Linked DNA regions of Homo sapiens: region 1 is linked to region 2. Evidence: promoter capture Hi-C in human tissues and cell types (Jung and others, 2019). All regions are on one chromosome and are shown on one strand. Each heading gives the region's core, a stretch centred on a gene start or on the middle of the fragment in contact. The rest is flanking DNA. Distances are from core to core; before and after follow the strand shown. Region 1 holds the start of RNH1 (ribonuclease/angiogenin inhibitor 1). Region 2 holds the start of IRF7 (interferon regulatory factor 7).

What was found. Contacts are between HindIII fragments. The study calls those that stand out against the background at their distance.
Region 1: the fragment with the promoter of RNH1 here is called in contact with the fragment with the promoter of IRF7 in region 2 in 1 of the 25 tissues and cell types used here (spleen).

What each region holds. Positions count from the first base shown.
Region 1 is chr11:505,922-508,621 of GRCh38, forward strand. It overlaps RNH1 (ribonuclease/angiogenin inhibitor 1), which reads right to left and starts at 1,321. Exons shown (of 11, transcript NM_203387.3): 1 at 1,192-1,321. It also overlaps a transcript of LRRC56 not described here. RefSeq lists an enhancer at 590-759 and a cis regulatory region at 675. The HindIII fragment of the contact is 14,362 bases long and covers 1-2,700 here.
Region 2 is chr11:614,674-617,199 of GRCh38, forward strand. IRF7 (interferon regulatory factor 7) reads right to left here and starts at 1,277. Exons shown (of 11, transcript NM_001572.5): 1 at 1,240-1,277; 2 at 672-974; 3 at 424-586; 4 at 124-334. The coding sequence starts at 691. CDHR5 (cadherin related family member 5) reads right to left here. Exons shown (of 15, transcript NM_021924.5): 15 at 1,910-2,526. RefSeq lists an enhancer at 139-733. The HindIII fragment of the contact is 18,510 bases long and covers 1-2,526 here.

The DNA.
Region 1 (2,700 bases), core at 71-2,570, 110 kb before region 2:
CCGGCTGGAGTGCAGTGGCACGATCTCGGCTCACCGCAACCTCCGCCTCCTGAGTTCAAGCCATTCTCCTACCTCAACCTCCCAAGTAGCTGGGATTATAGGCGCCTGCCACCACGCCCGGCTAATTTTGTATTTTTAGTAGAGACGGGTTTTCACCATGTTGGCCAGGCTGTTCTCGAACTCCTGACCTCAGGTGATCCGCCTGCCTCTGACTGCCCGGCCCAGTGTAACTGTTAACGGCAACATCGTGTGCAGTCTCCGGCTTGCATTCGGTTTAGTCAGCCAATCGCTAAGACGACACTTGAGACCGTTTTCAGATCTTTAGGCTTTCCACCATCCTAGAAGGGGGCCTGCCTGGTTCTAAGGCCCTTCTGAAACACTGCCAAACTGTCCTCGGGAAACGGTGCAGAAGTCCTCTGGTTTCCCCCAAGGCGCGTGGGCACCTTGGCTGGAACCTCGCCCAGTAACACGACGTGCCTGGGGCCCCTTCGTCATTTCCGCCAACCCCGGTGACAACCCTGACACCGGCCCCTAAGTGCCATTCCAGTTATGTTGCTCTCCTCCCCGCAGCCCCAGGCGGCAGCTTCGCGGCCCGGCGTCCGGTCCCCCGGTGGTCCCGGAGCGAAGCTCCGCAATGGAGAGCGGAGGACCCTCCCTCCCCGACCTCGCACGACCAAGACCGCCCACCTTTCCCCCAACGCCCGGCTGTGGGAGCCGTTCGAGTCTTCTCCGCCAGGGCGCTCCTTCCCGGGAGGCCGCTTCTTTGGGGGAATAAGGTCAAGGATTACGGGATTTGGGGAAGCAAGCTCGGCTGGGCCAGGATTGCTTGCGTAGCTCGCTGGAATCTAAGGCACTAGAGGGCTTGACGGCCACGTGAGGACGAACCACGCAGGCGCAGCCCCGCGCCCCGGGCAAGGACTTCCGGCAAGCCCCAAAGGGGAGCGTGCACCGCGATGACGTCCTCAAGGCGCGCCACGTCCGCCCGGCGGCGCAGCTGCCCAGCGCAACCTCGGCCCCGCCTCGATAGCCCCGGACCCCTGCCCCGCCCGACCCCGCCCCGCCACGGGAGCGCGCCACTCGCCCGCGCAGCAACGGCCTCAATAGCGCCAGGCCCGCGTCTACAAGAAGCCCGACCAAGGCCGGCGTGGGCGAGGCCTGGCTAGACGCTGACGCACCGCTGGAGCTACTGACCTCGGGACGACTGGCGGACGGTCGCGGGCCTGGAGACCCAGAGCGAGACGGCCTACTTCGTTCTCGAGCCAGCAGAACGGGTTGAACGTGTCGACAACCCCACCCGCCAGTCAGCGGCGCGGGCGTGTTCGAGCCGGCTCGTGGGCGTGGTCAGGTGCGTGGGCGGGGACTACTGGGCGGGGCTCGGCGCGGGGGCGGGGCCTGGCGGGAGTAGTCTCGGGGTCGGGGCGGGGCCCGGCGGGCGGGGCTCGGCTAAGCACAGTCTTGGCGCAGCGGCGGGGCCTGGTGGGGCGTGGCTCGGTGAGGGAGGTCTCGCTTGGGGGCGTGGTCTCCCCCAGTAGGCGGGGCTTGGTGCCGGGGGCGGGGTCTGGCGGGCGCGGGCGCGTGTGCGTGTTGTGGGCCTCGCACTGGCACGCAAGTCTCAGCAATTCCTGAGAATCCTCGGAGGAAGAGGCCGGGGCCCGGTGCGGCAGCGCCTTGGGGGCGGAATCGCAGGCGCGGGTCGGGCCTTGCTGGGGCGCGGGGCGCGGCCCCCGGAGAAAGCGGCCGCCTCGGGACAGGAGGGACCCGGGAGAAACCCCCCTGGGGCGGCTCCGCATGTCGGGGTCGCGACTCTAGGCGACCTTGGTAGAGGGGCTCGTTTGCGCCGAGCTCGCGACCCCCGAGGGAGCCACGGCCCCGTGAACCACGCTGCCCGTCCTGGCCACTGGCTGCCGCCTTTGTTTCGTGGGACCCCAGCCCGCAAGGCCTGCGGAGCCGCGGCCTCGTCCCGAGTGTTCTGAGCGCGGTCCGAGCTGCTCCTGCGTCCACTCTGCTGCCGACACCCGAGCGTCGCCTGGAGCCCTGGCACTGAGGGGCGCAGGCCGAGTTCCAGACCAGCCTGGGAAACGCAAAGCGACCCCACCTCCACAAAAGTGGGTTTTCTTTAAGTTTTTGACTAGTCCGCAATTCACAGAATTGACATTTTGGCAGATGAAGATTGCAAGTAAGGAAACTAACGGTATCTCAGATTTGTTCTTTAGCAATTTGCTAAACCTCTCCTCTGACTGCCTTTATTAGGTATTTGTTTTCGAGACAGGGTCTCACTCCACTGCTTAGGCTGTACTGCAGTGGCGCGATCCCAGCTCGCTGCAGCCTCCACCTCCCGGACTCCAGTGATCCTCCCGCCTCAGCCTCCCAAGTAGCTGGTACCACAGGCGCCAGCACGCCTGGCTAATTGTTGTATTTTATGTAGAGAAGAGGTCTCCCTGTGTTGCCCAGCCTGGTCTTGAATTGGGCTCAAGTGATCCTCCTGCTTCAGCCTCCCATATCGCTGGAATTACTGGCATAAGCCACTACACCCGGCCTGATCATCTTTAAAGAAGGTGGTTCTGGCCGGGCGTGGTGGCTCACACCTGTAACCCCAACACTTTGGGAGACCGAGAAGGGTGGATCACCTGAGGTCAGGAGTTCAAGACCAGCCTGGCCAACGTGGTGAAACCCCATCTCTACTAAAAATACAAAAATTAG
Region 2 (2,526 bases), core at 27-2,526:
GTCCTGGGCCTGCTGGCAGCCTCTCCCAGAACAGCTTCTAAAACCACAAATCTGACCCAGAGAATGTTCCCCTTTGCCCAAGCAGGACGAATGCCAACGCCCTTGGCAGCCGGCGTCGCTCACCTCGCCAGCACAGCTCCCGGCTGAGCGCGTACACCTTGTGCGGGTCGGCCGGGTCCCCCGAGTTATCCCGCAGCATCACGAAGCGACGCGTGCTGCGCAGTGCGCAGCGGAAGTTGGTTTTCCAGCCGGCGCGCTCCGCAGTCTCAGCCTCGGGGGGCGGGCCACCTCCCCTGCTGCTAGGCGGCCACCTGCCGCGGGCCACAGCCCAGGCCTGAAGAGGGGGACAGAACACGTGTGCCGGGCCCGCGGGGTCCTAGGCGGGCTCTCCCACCCGGGGCGGGGCGGGGCTGGGGTCCCCACCTTGAAGATGCGCGCGTCGGCCTCGCTCAGGTCCTTGCGCGCGAAGTGCTTCCAGGGCACGCGGAAACAGGTGCGGGCCTCGTCCAGCCACTGCAGCCCCTCATAGCAGCCGCTGCTGATCTCTCCAAGGAGCCACTCTCCGAACAGCACGCGTGGGGCTGCCCTGCGGGTGCCCGGCCGCGGAGAGTCAGGGCCGGCTGCAGGGCGCTCGGGGACTGGCATCTGGAGAGGGTGGGCCGGGCTCTTACCTCTCAGGAGCCAAGGCCATTGCTCCTTCTGCAGGGGCAGTTAGGTGGCGGTCAGGTGTTATAACAGGGGAGGTAAGGGCTCCTGTCGCAGCAGACGCCAGGCCGCGGCCACAGGTCGTGTGGCCAGGTGTCACAGGTGTCCACAGGTGTGGACTGAGGGCTTGTAGCCACCGACGCTGCCTCGGTATGGATCTCTTGGCAGAGGGGGCTACAGGTGTGACTGCAGGTGTGGCCGGCGCGCACACATGAAGTCACAGGTGTTGAACCAGTGTCCAGGCCTGGCGGGAAGGCGCAGGCCGGACCCTGCGGAGACGGGAAAGGCGACGTCAGGGGCGGGTCAGGCTCCCGGGAAAGCGAAACCTAAACAGTGGCGCTTCGCACCCTCCTCGATCCCACCCCGTCCGGTTCTCAGCTCCGCGGAACCCCGCCTCCGCCTCCGCCTCCCTCCCCGCCCGACCCTCATCTCTCAGGCTCCCCCAGCTCTTGGCTCTACCCCTCCGGGGTCACGGAGCCCCCACGGAGGCTCTCGCTCCCGGCCTGCACCGCGTGGGTCTGGGGTCCCCAGTACCTGGGTGCCAGAGCCGCCGGGACGGGAAGTTTCGTCTCGCGGGGAAGCGGAGGGCCGGCGCTTTTATGGTGGCCAGGCGGGAGTTTCCGGGAAGGGCGCGCGCCGCCTGTTCTTATTATTGGATGCGACCAGCGGAACCCCGCCCCGGCCAGCGCGGAGTAGGGAGGAGTGGAGGGCGTTGGGAGTGGCTGCAGTGAGCCGAGATGGAGCCACTCCACTACAGCCCAGGGGACAGAGCAAGACTCAGTCTCAAAAAAAAAAGGAAGTGGGTAATGGGAGGTGGACGTGCCTCGAAAAAGGGGCAGCTGCACCGTTTGCGTTTCTTTTTTTGAGATGGAGTTTCGCTTTTGTTACCCAGGCTGGAGTGCGGTGGCACAATCTTGGCCCACCACAACCTCCGCCTCCCGGGTTCAAGTGATTCTCCTACCTAAGCCTCCCGAGTAGCTGGGATTACAGGCATGAACCACCACGCCCGGCTAATTTTGTATTTTTAGTAGAGACGGGGTTTCTCTATGTTGGTCAGGCTGGTGTCGAACTCCCGACCTCAGGTGATCTGCCCACCTCGGCCTCCCAAAGTGCTGGGATTTAGGCGAGAGCCGCCGTGCGCAGCCCCCTTTGGGTTTTTTACATTGTTCAGTCAAGAATATCAGATACTCTCACAATTAAAACATTTGGAAAGGAATTAATGGTGTATTTCCATTAGGGAAAGTGCTGACAAGCCGCAAGGGATCCCTTGATGGTTCTGGGCATGGGCGCCCAGCCTGGGCTCTGGCTTTGGGAGCAGCGAGGGGAATGTGTCTCTCACCCCTAGGCCTCCTGGTCTGGCTCCTGCTCAGGCCACACGGCGCACCCACCCCCAGCGCGCCTCAGTCCAGGTCACTGGGCAGGGTGTTTACTGCTGCGCTCCAACCCAAGCATGTAGATTTCAGAAGGGGACTAGGACCCCCGGCAGGTGTTTGAGACCACCGGCTCCCAAGTGCGTCGCCTTGGGGGTTTGCATCGGCTCCTCAGCCTCCCCAGGCAATCTCTGTGTAGGGTCGGGAGCGGGAGGTCTGAGATGAGCCGGGTGCCTGAGATCTCCGGTGCAGGTCGGGGGAGGGGAGCCCCCCTCGGGCTGTGGTTAGAGCGGGAGAGGAACTTCCCAGACTAGCTGGCACAGAGCCTCGGGAAGGCGGCGGGCACTGCAGGTGGTTTACGGGAAGTGCTGCAGCCTTGGGGTGGGGACAGCGTGGCCAGACCCACCGCCTCATCTGCACACCTGGGCTCAAGCGCTAATGACGACAGGGG